Regions from separate parts of the Homo sapiens genome. Here regions 2 and 3 are each linked to region 1. The links are contacts of gene promoters, found by promoter capture Hi-C in blood cells and fetal thymus (Javierre and others, 2016). All regions are on one chromosome and are shown on one strand. Each heading gives the region's core, a stretch centred on a gene start or on the middle of the fragment in contact. The rest is flanking DNA. Distances are from core to core; before and after follow the strand shown.

The links. The method cuts DNA at HindIII sites, captures the fragments that hold promoters and counts their contacts. A CHiCAGO score of 5 or more calls a contact.
Region 2: a fragment that was not itself captured here is called in contact with the fragment with the promoter of FAM83F in region 1 in 5 of 17 cell types (M0 macrophages, non-activated CD4 T cells, M2 macrophages and 2 more); the score reaches 6.9 in M0 macrophages.
Region 3: a contact is called between a fragment that was not itself captured here and the fragment with the promoter of FAM83F in region 1, in 1 of 17 cell types (M0 macrophages). The highest score is 5.5, in M0 macrophages.

What each region holds. Positions count from the first base shown.
Region 1 is chr22:39,992,016-39,996,956 of GRCh38, reverse strand. FAM83F (family with sequence similarity 83 member F) reads right to left here and starts at 2,003. Exons shown (of 5, transcript NM_138435.4): 1 at 1,426-2,003. The coding sequence starts at 1,914. It overlaps LOC124905155, which reads right to left. Exons shown (of 2, transcript XM_047441700.1): 2 at 2,189-2,609. The coding sequence ends at 2,189. RefSeq lists a silencer at 1,961-2,080 and an enhancer at 1,655-2,288. The HindIII fragment of the contact is 8,768 bases long and covers 1-3,439 here.
Region 2 is chr22:39,697,373-39,702,313 of GRCh38, reverse strand. No RefSeq gene overlaps it. Among named protein-coding and RNA genes, the nearest start is that of CACNA1I, 130 kb to the right of the region's middle. The HindIII fragment of the contact is 7,974 bases long and covers 1-4,941 here.
Region 3 is chr22:39,723,264-39,728,204 of GRCh38, reverse strand. No RefSeq gene overlaps it. Among named protein-coding and RNA genes, the nearest start is that of CACNA1I, 150 kb to the right of the region's middle. The HindIII fragment of the contact is 6,457 bases long and covers 1-4,941 here.

The sequences.
Region 1 (4,941 bases), core at 754-3,253:
TGACATCATGAGACTTGACCCCTAACCCCAGCTGCAGCCTGTATTGCCGCCTACATCCTTTTTCCCTCTTCTGTGTCCAATCTTGCCTTTTTCTTCTGCAGAACACAATATACAAAGAAAACTCAGTCAGACAGGGAGGAATTATAGAGAGGGAGGGTAGAAATGTGCGCAGTGGAAAGTTAACCCTTCCTTCTGGTAGCCAATGTAGCCAACTATCTAGATCACCCCAACTACCTAAATCACCCCTTCCAGGAAGATGAGCCTGAGCACTGGTCTTTCTAGCTCTATTTTCCCTCCTCAGGCCTCTTCAGCCTCGAGGGGAACCAGGACTCCAACCTCACTCACTGAGTGGAATTTGAGTGGTGAACCCAAGCCACTCCTGTTGTATTATTCTGAATTGGGCACCAAAAGCTGCTGCTGTTTCTTAACAAATCTCAGTGTAGGGCAGCCAGAGTTAGCAAATAAAAGTACAAAACGTTCCCATTCAATTTGAATTTCAGATACACAACGAAGAATTTTTCAGTATCAGTACGTCTCATGTCATGTTTGGGATAAGCTGATACTAAAAAGTTATGTGTTGTTTATTGAAAGTTCAAATGTAGTGGGGCATCCTACATTTGATCTGGAAGCTGCCCAGGACTCCCACCCAAAGGCATAAAGATTAAAGTCTTCCACCTGTTCCACAGTGGACTGGCCTCACCAGCCACCCTGGAAACAGCCCCTCCTTCCAACTCTCAAGCAGGACACATATGCTAAGTAGGAGCCCTTTCCTGAGCTGCCGAGTCAGGTGACCTGCTGTGCCAAGGCGCCCAGCACAGGGCCAGGCACACAGTAGGTCCTCAATATACCCCGTCCCCCATTCATTCCAGGCAGCTGGGGCCTAGTACCCGGCCCAGGAGAGGCTGTGACTGTGAGGGCGCCAGCTCAGCTTTGACTATGGGAGGAGAGGGGTGGTCCAAGGAGCAGCATGGCAGAGGTGGGACCGGGAAGGTCACCGCCACCCACTCCCTGAAGTTGTTTTGACGATCACATGAGAAAGCGGCTCGGGATATGTTCTGGGCAGCACGTAGGTTATCATCAAGACCTTTGAGTGGTGCATTTTAACCACAGGGCCTCGGCCCCCAGTCTTCCCTGGGGAGGAAGGCTGGACAGGGAAGTTTCAGAAGTACAGAGCAGAGCCAGTGCCTCTGAACGCTGGAATACCGACGGCTGACATCTGTCCAGCACCTTGTAATTTGCCAAACACGTTCCCAGCCATTCGCTCTACAGGCCTCACTGCAGCCCCAGGAAGTAGGGGCGGGTTGGGGCCCATTTTCCAGAGGGTGCTCAGGGCGGCCTGCCCCGGGCCCTGCCTGGGAGGTGGGGCCCGGTCCAGGGGACTGGGGCCGAGGTCCCAGCGGTGTGGGGGCGAAGGCGGGGGCCTACCTTCTGGGCCTGTTGGATCATCTGCCTGACCACCTGCTTGAGGTGCGGCGCCTTCTCGTCCTTGGGCGGGTGGGTGAAGAGCGTGACCCGGCTCACGCCGCGGTAGAAACCAGTGTCCGTCCAGCCCAGGTCCAGAGGAGGCACCTCGGTGTCGGAACGGTCGGGCCAGTAGGCCAGGGACTCGCCGGACTCAGCCGGCGCCGGCGCGGGGGCCTTGGCCTTGGCCTTGCTCTTGCCCCGGGCGTTGGCGGCGGGGACGGCGTCCTCGTAGGGGCTCCAGGCGGCCCGCAGGGCCTGGCGCTCCGGGCTGGAGAGGAAGTCCCGCAGCTGCTCCTCCTTGAGCCGCTCGCGGTAGGCCTGCTCGCCGCCGCCCAGCAGCGCCTCCAGCGCGGCCCGCCGCCGCTCGCAGTAGTAGAAGGCGGCCTGCGCCTCGGTCACCTTCTCGTTCACGTGCGCCTCGTCCAGGCAGTTCAGCTGGGACTCGGCCATGGCGCCCCGGCCCCGGCCCCGGCCCTGGCCCCGGCCCCGCCGCGGTCCGAGGTCCCACAGCCGCACCTGGAGCCGCCGAGGGGCGGGGCGCCTCACCTGGCCGCGAGCTCTGCCCCGGCCCGTCCCGCCCCGCCCCGCCGTCGGGGAGCGGCCAATCCGCGCGGGCGTGGCCGTCGGGCGGGGAGGGGCCGCCGCCTCCGCCGGGCTCGCCGGGACCTCCGGGCGGCCTGGCGGACGCGGTCGGGCCCGGGCCTGCAGGGCCCACCAGCCGGGGCTAGAGTCCCTGAGGGGACGCCCCCAGGGGGCGGGGCCGTCGCAGACCCACGTGCGGGCTCCGGCCCCGACTCCTCCGCGGGGTAAAGGTTCGCTGTCCGGCCCTCGCTGCCATCCGCCCCCGCCGGCCGCGTCGCGGGTACGAGTTCATTTTCCGCGCACGTGGAGTCCGGAGCACGTGTTCTGGCCCAGTGGCCTCTGGGGCCGCCGAGCTGACCCCTTCCCCGTCGAGGGTCCGGTGTTGGTGGGGGGGCCTGCTGCAGGACGGGATTGTGACGGCTGAGGAGCGGGCAGGGGGTGTGCAAAAGCGAAATGCTAATGAGAGCTCGAGCTCCCCACCCTTGCGTCCCAGTTCTGAGATCAGAGCCCTTCTGGGCTGGGAGTCCAACACCTTCACTGTAAAACTTTCTTTTAAAAAATAGCTATCCAAACAGAAATGATGTAAAGAGCAGCAGTGGAATTCCCCCCGCCCCCACCTTAATTTGAAGTAGGGTGTGTGGTGTCTCTCCGTGTGTGTTTGGGCAAGATAGGCTGCCAGAGACATGATTACTATATTAGTGATTCAAAATGTATGTTTGAGCTCAAGGAAGGAAACCGCACGTGCGTGCACACCACACACACGCACACACACAGCAGCGGTGGCAGCAGCTCTGCTGTTTCCCATCGGATTAAATACAATCGTCTTAGTCATTAACATATTATGTTGTTCATGCACTGCTCTACAATTTGATTCTCCACATTCAAAATATTTTCAGATCATAACAACTAAAGGTTCACATTTCTCTCACTTTATAGCGCAGCATCTCAGAGCTGGAAGGAGCTTTTCAAGCTCCTCCAACCCCCTCATTTTACAGTTGAAGAAATTGAGGCCTAGCAACGTGTGCGTTGCCCAGGTCTCCCGTGAAAGAGGCAGAGCACGGGGACTGCAAGGTTTTCTGTCTTGGAGGTCTTTCGCTGACATCACGGCCGCCTTTACCCTTTCTCCTTTTCTTGTGAAACGACAGGTTATTGGGGACCTGGTTTTCACCCCAGGGGATTTGAAAAGGTCACTTACCATTTCTAGGCCTTCCTTTCATGCTCTGGAAAAAATGAGAGTTAGATTTTCAAATGTCTGCACATTATTGTTATTATTATTTTTTTTTTTACAATAATCAGTTCTGGCATCCTGTGTCAGCCCAAAGATTGGGAGTGGTGAGCAGCAAGGTGTCCATCACCTCACTTGTCCTTTACCCCTCTTGGGAACTGGAAAGCTTCACTCCTGGTAATGCTCCACTCTTAAGTACATATAGACAGATTGTGTCCTTAGATGGGAGAGCACTTAGTTTATTACGACTTGACGCCCTACAAGATGCCAGACTCAATAGTCTGGAGACACACAGGAGCTCAGGGCAGTGGGAGAGACAGACAAACACAGAAGAGGATAGGAGTAATGAGAGTGGTTTCTTTGGGCTTTTTTTGTTTATTTTGTTTTGTTTTACTTTGTTTTGTTTGAGACGGAGTCTCACTCTGTCGACCAGGTTACAGTGCCGTGGTGCAATCTTGGCTCACTGCAACCTCTGCCCCCTGGGTTCAAGCGATTCTCCTGCCTCAGCCTCCGAGTAGCTGGGGTTACAGGCACCTGCCACCGTGCCCGGCTAATTTTTGTATTTTTAGTAGAGTTAGGGTTTCACCATTTGGCCAGGCTGGTCTTGAACTCTTGACCTTGTGATCCACTCACCTTGGCCTCCCAAAGTGCTGGGATTACAGGCATGGCCCAATAGTGTTTTAATAAACACAGTCAGAAATGCTTTGGGAGCAAATGGGCTCAACAAACATTTACTCAATGCCTACCATGTGCCTGGTACACAGTTTGCACCCAGTGTACATTTCTTAAAGAATTTGAGCCAAGAGAAAGGTATGTGGAGGGAGCTTATGGGAATATGAAGGAAGGAGCAATCTGCCCAGTGGGAACTGGGTAAGAAGGGCTTTGTCCAGCAAGAAGGGATTTCAAGTGGAGCCTAAAAGGAGGAGAAGAATTCAAGGTGGAGAGAGGGAATGAAGACATTATAGGTGGAGGGACTTAAAACTGAGTTTAGTCAGAACATTATGCTGGCATCAGGCTTATGTGGACTCAGTCACTTCAAGATGCCTTTCAGAGCCTTAGTCTCCTCATCTGCAAAATGGGATAATAATGCTTAACTCTCCTGACCTCCCACGTTGGTGTAGGGATTAAACGAGAACACTTCTTTGACTTAATTAGTACTCGTGTATCCCTGGTAGAAAGTGGTTTACAATAGTGCTTCCAAAATTTTCCTGTGCAGCCAGGGGGCTTGTTAAAATGTAGATTCTGATTCAGTAGGTCTGGGGTGAGGCCCGAGACTCTGCATTTCTAGCAAGCCCCCAGGTAATGCTAGGAGTGCTGGTCCACTGACCAAACTTTGCATGGCAAGGATATCAGAGATGGTAAATAACAGCATGAACTTTCATATCACAGAGTCCTGGGAATGAATCCAGCTTTCCTAATATTAGCTGTGTGTCCCCAGGAAAGTTATTTTTATTTTCTGGGCCTTTGTCTTGTCATCAGTGAAATATGGGCAATAAGTCCCACCTCAGCTGGGCGCAGTGATGGGCCAGTAGTCCTGGCTACATGGGAGGCTGAGGCAAGAGGATCCCTTAAGCCCAGGAGTTTGAGTTCAGCCTGGGCAACATAGTGAGACCCTGTCTCTTAAAAATGAAGTCCAACCTTACTAGGTTATTTGAGAAGGGAAACAAGTT
Region 2 (4,941 bases), core at 1,056-3,555, 290 kb after region 1:
TCTGGAAAATCCTCAGCCATTATCTCTTTGAACAGCAAGTCTCGCCCCTCTCCCTCTTAGCGCTTTCTGGAGCTGCGAGCGGATGAGCATTCTCACTTCTCGCTCTGACCTTCCCTCTGAGCTTCCACCTCGCAAGTTCTGTCCTGCGTTGTACCTTCTGGCGGTTGCCTCAGCTCCATCTTCTAGTCCGCTGATTCCTTCCTGCACTGGGTCTATTTGCTGTTCAGCCAATGCACTGAGTTTCTCATTTCACTTATTACATTTTGCATTTCAAGAAGTTCTGTTTGACTCTTTTTTTCATATCTCCCTGAACACTTTTGTAGTCTGTTTTTCCTTGTCTATGCTCTCCATATTTTAAATGTCTTTAGAGATGGAGTCTCACTCTGTTGCCCAGGTTGGAGTGCAATGGCACGATCTTAGCTCACCACAACCTCTGCTTCCTGGATTCAAGTGACTCTCCTGCCTCAGCCTCCCAAGTAGCTGGTATTATAGGCAGGCGCCACCATGTCCAGCTAATTTTTTGTATTATTAGTGGAGATGGGGTTTTGCCATGTTGGCCAGGCTGGTCTTGAACTCCTGACCTCAGGTGATCTGCCCGCCTCAGCCTCCCAAAGTGCTGGGATTACAGGCATGAGCCACTGTTCCCGGCCTAGGATTTTTAAACTTATTTTTATTCTATTTCTGATCATTCAAACGTCAAATCTTTTGATCTAGTTTTACATGTATGGCTTCTTTCAACTGCGACTCACTGTGGAATGTTCTCTCCTAGGTTTTGCAGTTTGAGGCTGTGGGCCTGGCAGTGTTCTGTAGGGACCCGGTAGGACCCTGATGAGGGCTTGCTCTGGCCGTGTGCCCAGGTCCACCAACCCAACACCTCTTTAGGTTAATTTCTTGGCTTGGGGTTTCTGGACCACTCCAAAAATTTGAACCCGATCCCGAGCGATCCGCAGCCTAAACTGACACATTCTTAGGAAGGAATCCTTTTATCCACATTGATTGCAGAGGCCAGGACAAATGAATATCATTGTCATTTTTATTTGCTAGAAGTTTGTTGTTTTAGAGCCCTTACACTGAAGGTACAGCCTTTGAGGACTCCAGCTTGAGATAAGAGTCTTACGTGCCACTCCCAACCTTTTCTCAGCTCAAGATGTAGTGTCTTCTGTTCCCTGCACAAGGTCCCAGGCCCCAGATGTGGGCAAAACGCCTCAGGGCATCCAGAAGTCAGCGTTTGCTTCCTGTCTGGCATCAGTTTCCTCTTCATTTCTGGCTCTCAGAAATTTTCCTTACTCCCTTGCAAACTTAGCTGTGCGTTGAATAAAGAAGTTTGTGGCAACTTGTCCTGGATTTTTAGGGGTTTTGTAGCAGAAGCCCTCCTACCCCACCCCCGCCCCAGAAAGTCTGACTGTAGCAGAACAGGTCTCACTGCTTTACCAAACCATTTCTTCTTCCTCTGGGCTCACAGCTGGACCGCAGAGCCAGACTCCCCTGCACTGAGCACGGCCACGTGTCTGCGTTCTGTCCAGTGGGATGTGGGTGGGAGTGGTGGGCACCATTCCTGAGCCTGGCCCATAAAACCCTCCCACACAATGCTCCATGCCCTTCCCCTTCTTCAGTGGCCTTAGAAGCCTTAGGGTGACGATGGCAGAGCCATGAGATGGGTGTGCTTGTGTCCCTCATCACTGTTCACAGGAGAGCTGCCTGCCATGTCAGGGGTTAACAAGCAGGACGAAAACCCCTGGGACCAAGGGTGTGTCAGCTGGTGGGACAGCACAGTCCACGGGCCCACCATTTGCCAGAATCAAAGCCTCTCTTTGTGATCCCACAGCTTAGTGTCACATGCAGAATCGCTGTCTGGCGTAGGGACGTCAGGATGTTTATCTGGCCTGGCTCTCAGAAGGTGGGACGGCGGGTTACAGAGCCCAAGTGGCCCCTGGCACTGCAAATGGGACACTGGTGCTGAGAAAGATTCCGCCGCTTCTTCCCACCAAGGCAAAGCTCTAGGCAAGGCCCCACACTGGCCACCGAGCTCCAGACAACGCAGCTGTGGTCCTGCTCTCCAGGAATTCCTAGGTAGTCGGGGACACAGGCACACACAAAGGCGGCCCAGGGACAAGAGGACAATGGCCACAGCGCGTCTGAGGACAGGGGCCGTGTTACTCAGGCAACAGCACATTCAGGCCAAGGCTCCAGGGCCTGGGGGAGGACTATGCCTGTGCGGGGACCACATGGTCAATAGCACTGGAGTCAGAGCAGCAGGCGGCCTCCCCTGGGCTGGAACAGGTGGGACTCTAGGAGCAGCCCAGCCTTACCTGGCAGGAGACAGTGCACACTCCAGAGATGGGACGGACCCAGGGCTAGCAGGACTAGAAATTTCATCTCCAAAGCCATCGATGACACCTTGCCTGCAGTCACTGGAGTCCTCAGGCCACCCACTGTGCAAACATGTCATCAAGAAGCCATCAGAGCTCTAATGACTACAAAGAAGCTCTTCTCCCAGGGATGAGGACTGGCTTCCTGCGGCTGGCAACATTCCCACAACAGGCTCTGCAGTGACACAGCAGGCCAGAGGACGGGTGTCAGGACTCCCAGCTGGGAACCCAATGCACGCAGCCTTCTCTGCTCCTCTCAGCAGCCCGCCAGGAGAAGTGCCACCAGCCTGCCGGCTGCCAAGGCTCAGGTGCGGCAGATGGGCCACCACTCACACGGGCTGGAGCCAGGGTTTGAACCCAGCCGTACCCTCTGATTTATGTGTCAGGCTGGCTGGGCTACGGTGCCCGGTTGCTCAGCCAAATGCAAATCTAGATGTTTCTGTGGAGGTATTTTGTGGCTATGACTAACACCTACAATCAGTTAACTGTGAGTAAAAGCAATTACCCCTCGTCACCTGGGTGGGCCTCATCCAATCTGCTGAAGGCCTTCAGAGGAAAAACAGAGGCTTTCCAAAGAACATAGAATCCCACCCAGAGACTGTGACATAGAAATCCTGCCTTAGAGGCCGGGCGCGGTGGCTCACACCTGTAATCCCAGCACTTTGGGAGGCTAAGGCGGGCGGATGTGATGGGCGAGGTGATGGGGAGTGATGGGGAGGTGATGGGGGAGGTGATGGGGAGTGATGGGGAGGTCGTGACGGTGAGTGAAGAAGGAAGAGGTGATGGGGAGGTGAAGGAGGAGGTGATGGGGAATGATGGGGAGGTGAAGGAGGAGGTGATGAGGAGTGATGGGCAGGTGATCGGGGAGGTGATAGAGAGTGATGGGGAAGGTGATGGGGAGTGATGAGGAGGTGACAGCAAGTGAAGGAGGAGGAGGTGATGGGGAGGTGAAGGAGGAGGTGATGGGGAGGTGAAGGAGGAGGTGATGGGGAGGTGAAGGGGAGGTGAAGGAGGAGGTGATGGGGAGGTGAAGGAGGCAGTGATGGGGAGGTGAAGGAGGAGGTGATGGGGAGGTGAAGGAGGAGGTGATGGGGAGGTGAAGGGAAGGTGAAGGGGAGGTGATGGGGAGGTGAAGGGAAGTGAAGGAGGAGGTGATGGGGAGGTGAAGGAGGAGGTGATGGGGAGGTGATGAGGAGTGATGGGAGAGGTGATGAAGGGGAGGCAAAGGAGGCGGTGATGGGGAGGTGATGGGGAGGTGAAGGGGAGGTGAAGGGGAGATGATGGGGAGTGATGGGGGGGTGATGAAGGGGAGGTAAAGGAGGAGGTGATGGGGAGGTGAAGGGGAGGTGATGGGGAGTGATGGGACAGGTGATGAAGGGGAGGTGATGGGGAGTGATGGAGGAGGTGATGGGGGAGGTTTCCCCTACCTTCCATGCTGCCTTGGGAAACGGAGAGCTCCTGGACTGCACCTGTTCAGTGTTTATCCACAGTGACCGGGAGGTTCTTGAGAAAGAAAGTGCCACTCAGAAGCCCATCTGCTCCTCCTCCCCTCCACCCCATGCACCACAGGACATAAATCCCAGATGAAAAAGGAGGCCGGAGCTGGGGTCACACCCAGAGCCACCCATTGCCCCCATCACTGCAGGAGGAGGCCCCAGGGCCTGGGTGCAACCCACAGCCTCCCTGTCCACCTCCCGCGCTTCCTGCAGCCTGGGCCAGCCCTGTGACCTGATGAGGATCTATTTTAGTCGCTACACTGCAGGGCAGAGAAAAATTGCTCCTCTGCACCGTCCCCTTCGGTCACCCCATTTCAGAGCAGAGCCCCTGGGTTTTAGGATCAAAGAGCAGTGGGAAGCTGAGAGCACGGCCTGTCCATTAATCAGCTGTTAAGGACTCCCAGAAGCCCACAGAGGTCTGCAAAGAGTGGTTTATTTTCCCTTACATCCTTAAAACCTGTGGCTCTAGCCAGAAAGAGCGTGGGCGTCAGAGTCCACCGGTCAGGGCTAGTCCTGGTGATGCCCTGTGGGTGGGGTCCCTGGAGAGGTTGCTTCACCTCCCCCAGCCTCCATTCCTCATTCGCAGAAGCAGGAAGGAGAACACCGCTTCAGCAGGCTGGCATGCGGGTGAAGGGCGGTGAAGCCCAGGCACCCACCCCTGCACCCTGTGTCTCTCCCCAGGCCCTGCTTCGGGCTCCTTCCTCCATCTTCACTGTGCCAGGCCCCCAGCCAGAGAGGGGATTTAAAGGAGAATCTGGCTTTGTCCCCGCCTGGAGAAGCTCATGTGGATATAGAACCTGTGACACCTAACACCATTCGGGGGTGCAAGGAGAGCGGGAGTGGTGGTCACAGAGGTGACCCCAGTACCAGGAGCAGCATGGGCCAAGGCCCAGGGGCAAGACAGCCCTGTGCTATTCTCTGAGTCCTTTCCTCCATCTCTCCACTGTGCAAAGCGTGGGATTACAATGCACATTACAAGGGCTGGGAGACTTAGGGAGGCAGTTTCCTGAGCCCCGTGGATACTCCCAGAGATGGGCTCTGAGGCTTTCCTCGCAGGCCAGGGCTGTGGGGGCCTG
Region 3 (4,941 bases), core at 1,832-4,331, 270 kb after region 1:
GGGGAAACTGAGGTTTGAAGGTCAAGTGATTTTCCCACATGCCTGCTCTAGTGGTGAGCACAGGATAAAGTCAGGAAGAGCACGGGAGACCAGCGAGAAAAGCCAAAAGCCATGGGAAGAGGAGACTGGGGCGGCGGGGGGTGGTGGCGGGGGGTGGCGGCGGGGGCCGGGCAGACTGAAAACCTGGGGGGCACCAGTTCAGCAGGACAATACGTGAGTGTTTTAGGGACTATGAACTGCTGCCTGGCATCTTCCCACCTCTTTAAGGCATCTCTAGCTAACCACAGATGTGCCCCCCAGAAAGCATGCCCTTCTTAAAATCCTTAAGCCAATGCGTTCCATCAGCTTTTGCGAAGTTATGGTGTGGGAGCAAGCCCGGTCCCCAGCGGCTTAGAGCACTCACGGTTTGTTTCTCACTCGGGGTAAACATCAGCTGCTGTCGGATGAGGCTCTGACTCACACATCTCCATCTTTCCGGGATCCGGGCTGAAGGAGTGGCCACGTTCTCATGGCAGAGGAGAAAGAACACCGGCGGGACCGCACGACAACTTTTACAACTTCTTGCAAGTGTTGCTTCTCTCCTATTTTCTTGGCCAAAGTGAGCCATGTGGCCGAGCCTGCTGTCACTGGGGCAGAAAATAATTGGCAATATAAACTACAGTCACAGGTTATTGATACTGCTGGTCTCCATTTTCTAGTTCACAAAATGGAAAGAATATCAGTTCCCTCTTAATGAGGCACTTACAAAGATTAAATGAAATATGGCCGGCAGCACAGTACATTGTAAATTGACTTACAATTTCCTAGTGCCCAGCACAGGGGCTGGCATAGAGTGGGTGCTCAATAGACATTTGTGGAACTTTATTCATCAACAAATATTTACTGCACACCTGCTCTGTGCCAGGAACTATTCTAGGCTATTCTAGGCTAGCTTTTAGGATCTAATAGAGAACAAGACAAGCAAGATCTCTATTCTCATGGACCTCACGTTCCAGTTAGTGGGAAACAGACAACAGACAGCTAAGAACTTCAGAGAGTGGTAAGAGCTGTCAAGAAAATGAAACAGAATTAATAAGAAACAGGGTAGGGAGTAAAACTAATCTAGCCAGGCACAGTGGCTCATGCCTGTAATCCCAGCACTTTGGGAGCCAAGGCAGACGGATTGCTTGAGCTCAGGGGTTTGAGCCCAGCCTGGGCAACATGGAGAAACCCTATCTTTACAAAAAAAAAATACAAAAATTATCCAGGCCTGGTGGTACATGCCTATAGTCCCAGATACTCAGGAGGCTGAGGCAGGAGGATCACCTGAGGACGGGAGGTCAAGGCTGCAGTGAATCGTGATCATGCCACTGCACTGCAGCCTGGGCAACAGAGTGAGACCCTGTCTCAAAAAAATAAAGACTAATCAAGAAAGACTCCCCCAGATAGGTAACTTTGAGCTGAGATCTGCATGATGAGGAGCCAGTCTTGAAAAGATAAAAGGTAACAACATCCTGGGCAGAAAGGGGATCCTGCGTGCAAAGGCCCTGAGGCCAGGACGAGTTTAGGAAGGCCACTCAGGCAGGGGTGTCCCGAGCACATGGCAGAGCCACAAAGAAGGACGTCGGAGACCAGGAGGAGTTTAAGAAAGTCACTTAGGCAGGGGAGTCCCGAGCACATGGCAGAGCCACACAGAAGGACGTCAGAGAAGCAGGCAGGGAACTTCATCCCTTTTCTAGTCTCTTGCTGTCCTTTCTAGCACATAAATCCTTTAAGGACAAGGTCACCAGAACCTAGCGCAGTGCCTGGAGCATCCCAAAGATCTGGGAAACACCTGCTGGGGAAAGAATTCCATCAGGGTGGGACAATGGCCACACCAGAGACAGAGCTGCCCATCCCCTAGAGGGGGCTTCTGAAGCTCTGACCCATTCTCTCCTTCTCATTCTCCTTCTGAATTCCCTGTCTCCTAGAAACTTCTCTCACTCCATGACATCAGCATCACTTGGTGACATGTTACAATTTCCAAAATTACAGCTGTTTTTATATTACATTGCACAGTGGCTGCTTTCTAACAACCTAGAGAAAAAGCCTCTTTTACAAATAAGCTCTCTCCAAATCACAGTGTGGAATGGGCTACAACTAATTCCATCCATTATACACTGATTGCCTTCAGCTCTGCCTCCAAACCATGGCAGGTGCTGACCTTGGCTGGGTTTCAGGGTGACCTTCACTTTGAGGACATGGATCTTGCTACCCACACACAGTTGAGTCACGTCATAAGCACACCTAACTCCATATGCATACTTCAGTGATACCTGCCTGCAGAAGAGAAGGAGAGAGTGATTTAAATACACCAGTGAACGCATGCCACAGAAAGCCAAACCTGGAGGTGTGACTCAGGGTCCTGCAGGGCCCTGCTGCCTCTCCTGGTGTGAGCATCCCTCCTTCCTCAGTCTGCAAGATCCTTGTGTTTAAAGCTCTGGGAGGTTTGAAGACACCTGTTCTGCAAGGAGACGCATTCAGTGCCCACTTGAAGGACAAGTGGATCTGGCTGGACTGTTGAGAGCCAGGATGGCAGTCTCAGCGTGAGGCTTAAGGGGGCTGGCGGGAAGGGCAGGGAGCCGTCACTATAGCTTACAGCTGAGTCATGTCTGCTATTCGGGCTCACTTCAGAGCAAGTCCCTGAGCCACTTGTGCAGAGACAGGTGGTGGGGAGACAGGAGGAAGCCTCTGTCTTTTAGCTGGGAGTCCAAAGACCTAGACGCTGGCCCTGGCTTGGCATGAGCGAAGGGACCCTGCTGTACATGAGGGCCTGTGAGGGGTGGGCTCAGACCCTCTGTGGGCCCTTCCAACTCTGCCATTTCTGTGATTCTGCAGGGAGGTGTTGGGAAATAGGCAGGAAGATGTAGGCCTGCTGTAGGAAGGTGGAGACCTACAGGTGATCTTTCCCCTGACTGGCTAGTGGGTGGAGAACAGCTCTGGGTCAAAGGAGGCATGGAAGTTTGCCTGCCAGGCCCTCCCCAGCAAAACTGGGAGGAATTAGCATCCACCCCAAAAGGAATCGGCCTATTCCAAACATGCCTTCAAGAGGGTCCGCTTCTGAGGTCTGTTCCGCAGAGGACCAGGCCGGTGACGGTGAAGCCAGCCACCTTCCTGGCTCAGGAGCTCCTCCTCACCCACGGCCTCTGTTAGCATCCCATGTCCTGGAGACGGCGAAAGCAGAGCTGAGGGGACAAGGAGTTGGGGCCAAGCAGGGCCAGGGCCCAGCAGGAACATTAGGAAGTGTCTCAAGCCTCAGGTGGGGTGGGGCACAGTCCTTCCTGCCCGAGTTCTCTTGTTACCAGATGGAAGGTCTTGGCTGTGAGTTGTCCAGGTTCTTGGCATGTTGAACAAAGAATTGAACAAAACACACAAACAATGCAACAAAAGAACAGAGTAAGGAAGGCACAGATGTATCAAAGCCCAAAAGTACAACCCACAGAGCAGGAGCAGGCTGGAGCAAGCGGCTCAAGAGCCACTATTAGGGTTTTATTAAGTCGCAAATGTTTGGTAACACCCCTAGGTGCCCTTTAGAGTCCTCCAATTGGTTACACCCTATGAAGGATTGGCCTGCAACCAATCAGAGGGTGAAGTGGAGACTTCGCTTGCAGCCAATCAGAGGCTGAGGTGGAAACTTCTGCCTTGTTATGACAGGAGGGAGGGTGTGGCCTGTGTGCTGCCCAATCTTGCCTAGAACTGGCTGCACCTGTTGTTCTTTTGCTTCTGCCTTAACCGTTGGTTACCCTAATTCCCTTGTTCTCCTGCCTCTTCTGGGAAAGGGAGTGATGGGAGCAGGCTGGGTGAGGTGAGGGAGAGACAGGCCTACGGTGGCCAGAAATGGCTCCCTGCAGAGGCTGCAAGGCTGGCCCAAGCACCAGGTCAAGAATGCCAAATGATTCCACCAGGGCTGGAAGGGGGCCAGAGACTGCAGAGCCGCATGGCTGGAGGGTGAGCCTGGAGTGAGGGTACACCTGGAGTGAGGGTGCACCCAGCCCAGAGCCCTCCCGAGGGGCTGCTCTTATGGCCATGTGGAGGTGGGTCCAAGCCATGAAAGCAACAGAGAATCCAAGCAGGCAGGGGACTTGGGACAGAACTAGGGTTTCCCAAGCACCTACACTGTGGGAGGCACCATACAGAGGAGATTCAGTTCCATGAGTCATGGACCCACGTGGTCCAGCCTCTGAATAGAGTCACAGATAAGAAGTCCAGTCCAAATTGTCAGAAGTGATAATAAAGGAATTCTCATTCTTACCCTGACTTCTCTTTAGGCAGATGCAGCTGTTCTTTCTGGGCTTTGGAGATCCCTTTGTCCCACCCACACTGCTCCTGGGCTGCCCATTTGCCAAAGCCCCACCACCTCCCAAGTCTCCACCTCGACCTTTAGGCTTCAGCCGCAGCCGTCTTCCTCCTGCTCAGCTGGATTCGGAAGGGCAGGCCTGGAGCCCTGAAGACTGGAGACTGGAGTGAGGCCTCCCAACGCCGGGCCCAGGTGGGCTCCATCATCACATGGGGGCTGGGAGAGTCCAGGGCAGGCAGGTGCAGGCCCTGAGCCAGGGTTACCAGCGGGAGAGGAGAGGGAGGGCAGGAGGCAGAAGGCGGGCACGGTCACCCCTGGCCCATTTGTGAACCTGTAAAGTGCTGCCTTCCCCAGCTATGGTGAGGAAACTAGGTGCAGGGAGGTTAGGAGTGGCCCAAGATCACCCAGCCAGCGAGAGTGAGCATCAGGAATTGAACTCGGGTCTGTCTGAAGCCAAGGGTGTCTTCCTGAAACTTCATTATCTACACGTCCTATCAGAGAAGAGATGCAGAGAGAAGGAAGCTAGAGCTTAAGGGGTGTGTGTGTGTGTGTGTGTGTGTGTGTGTGTCAGGTGGGTGGGGTGGAGGGGAGCATGAGGAAGATGAGACAAGGTCATCAGAAAGGAG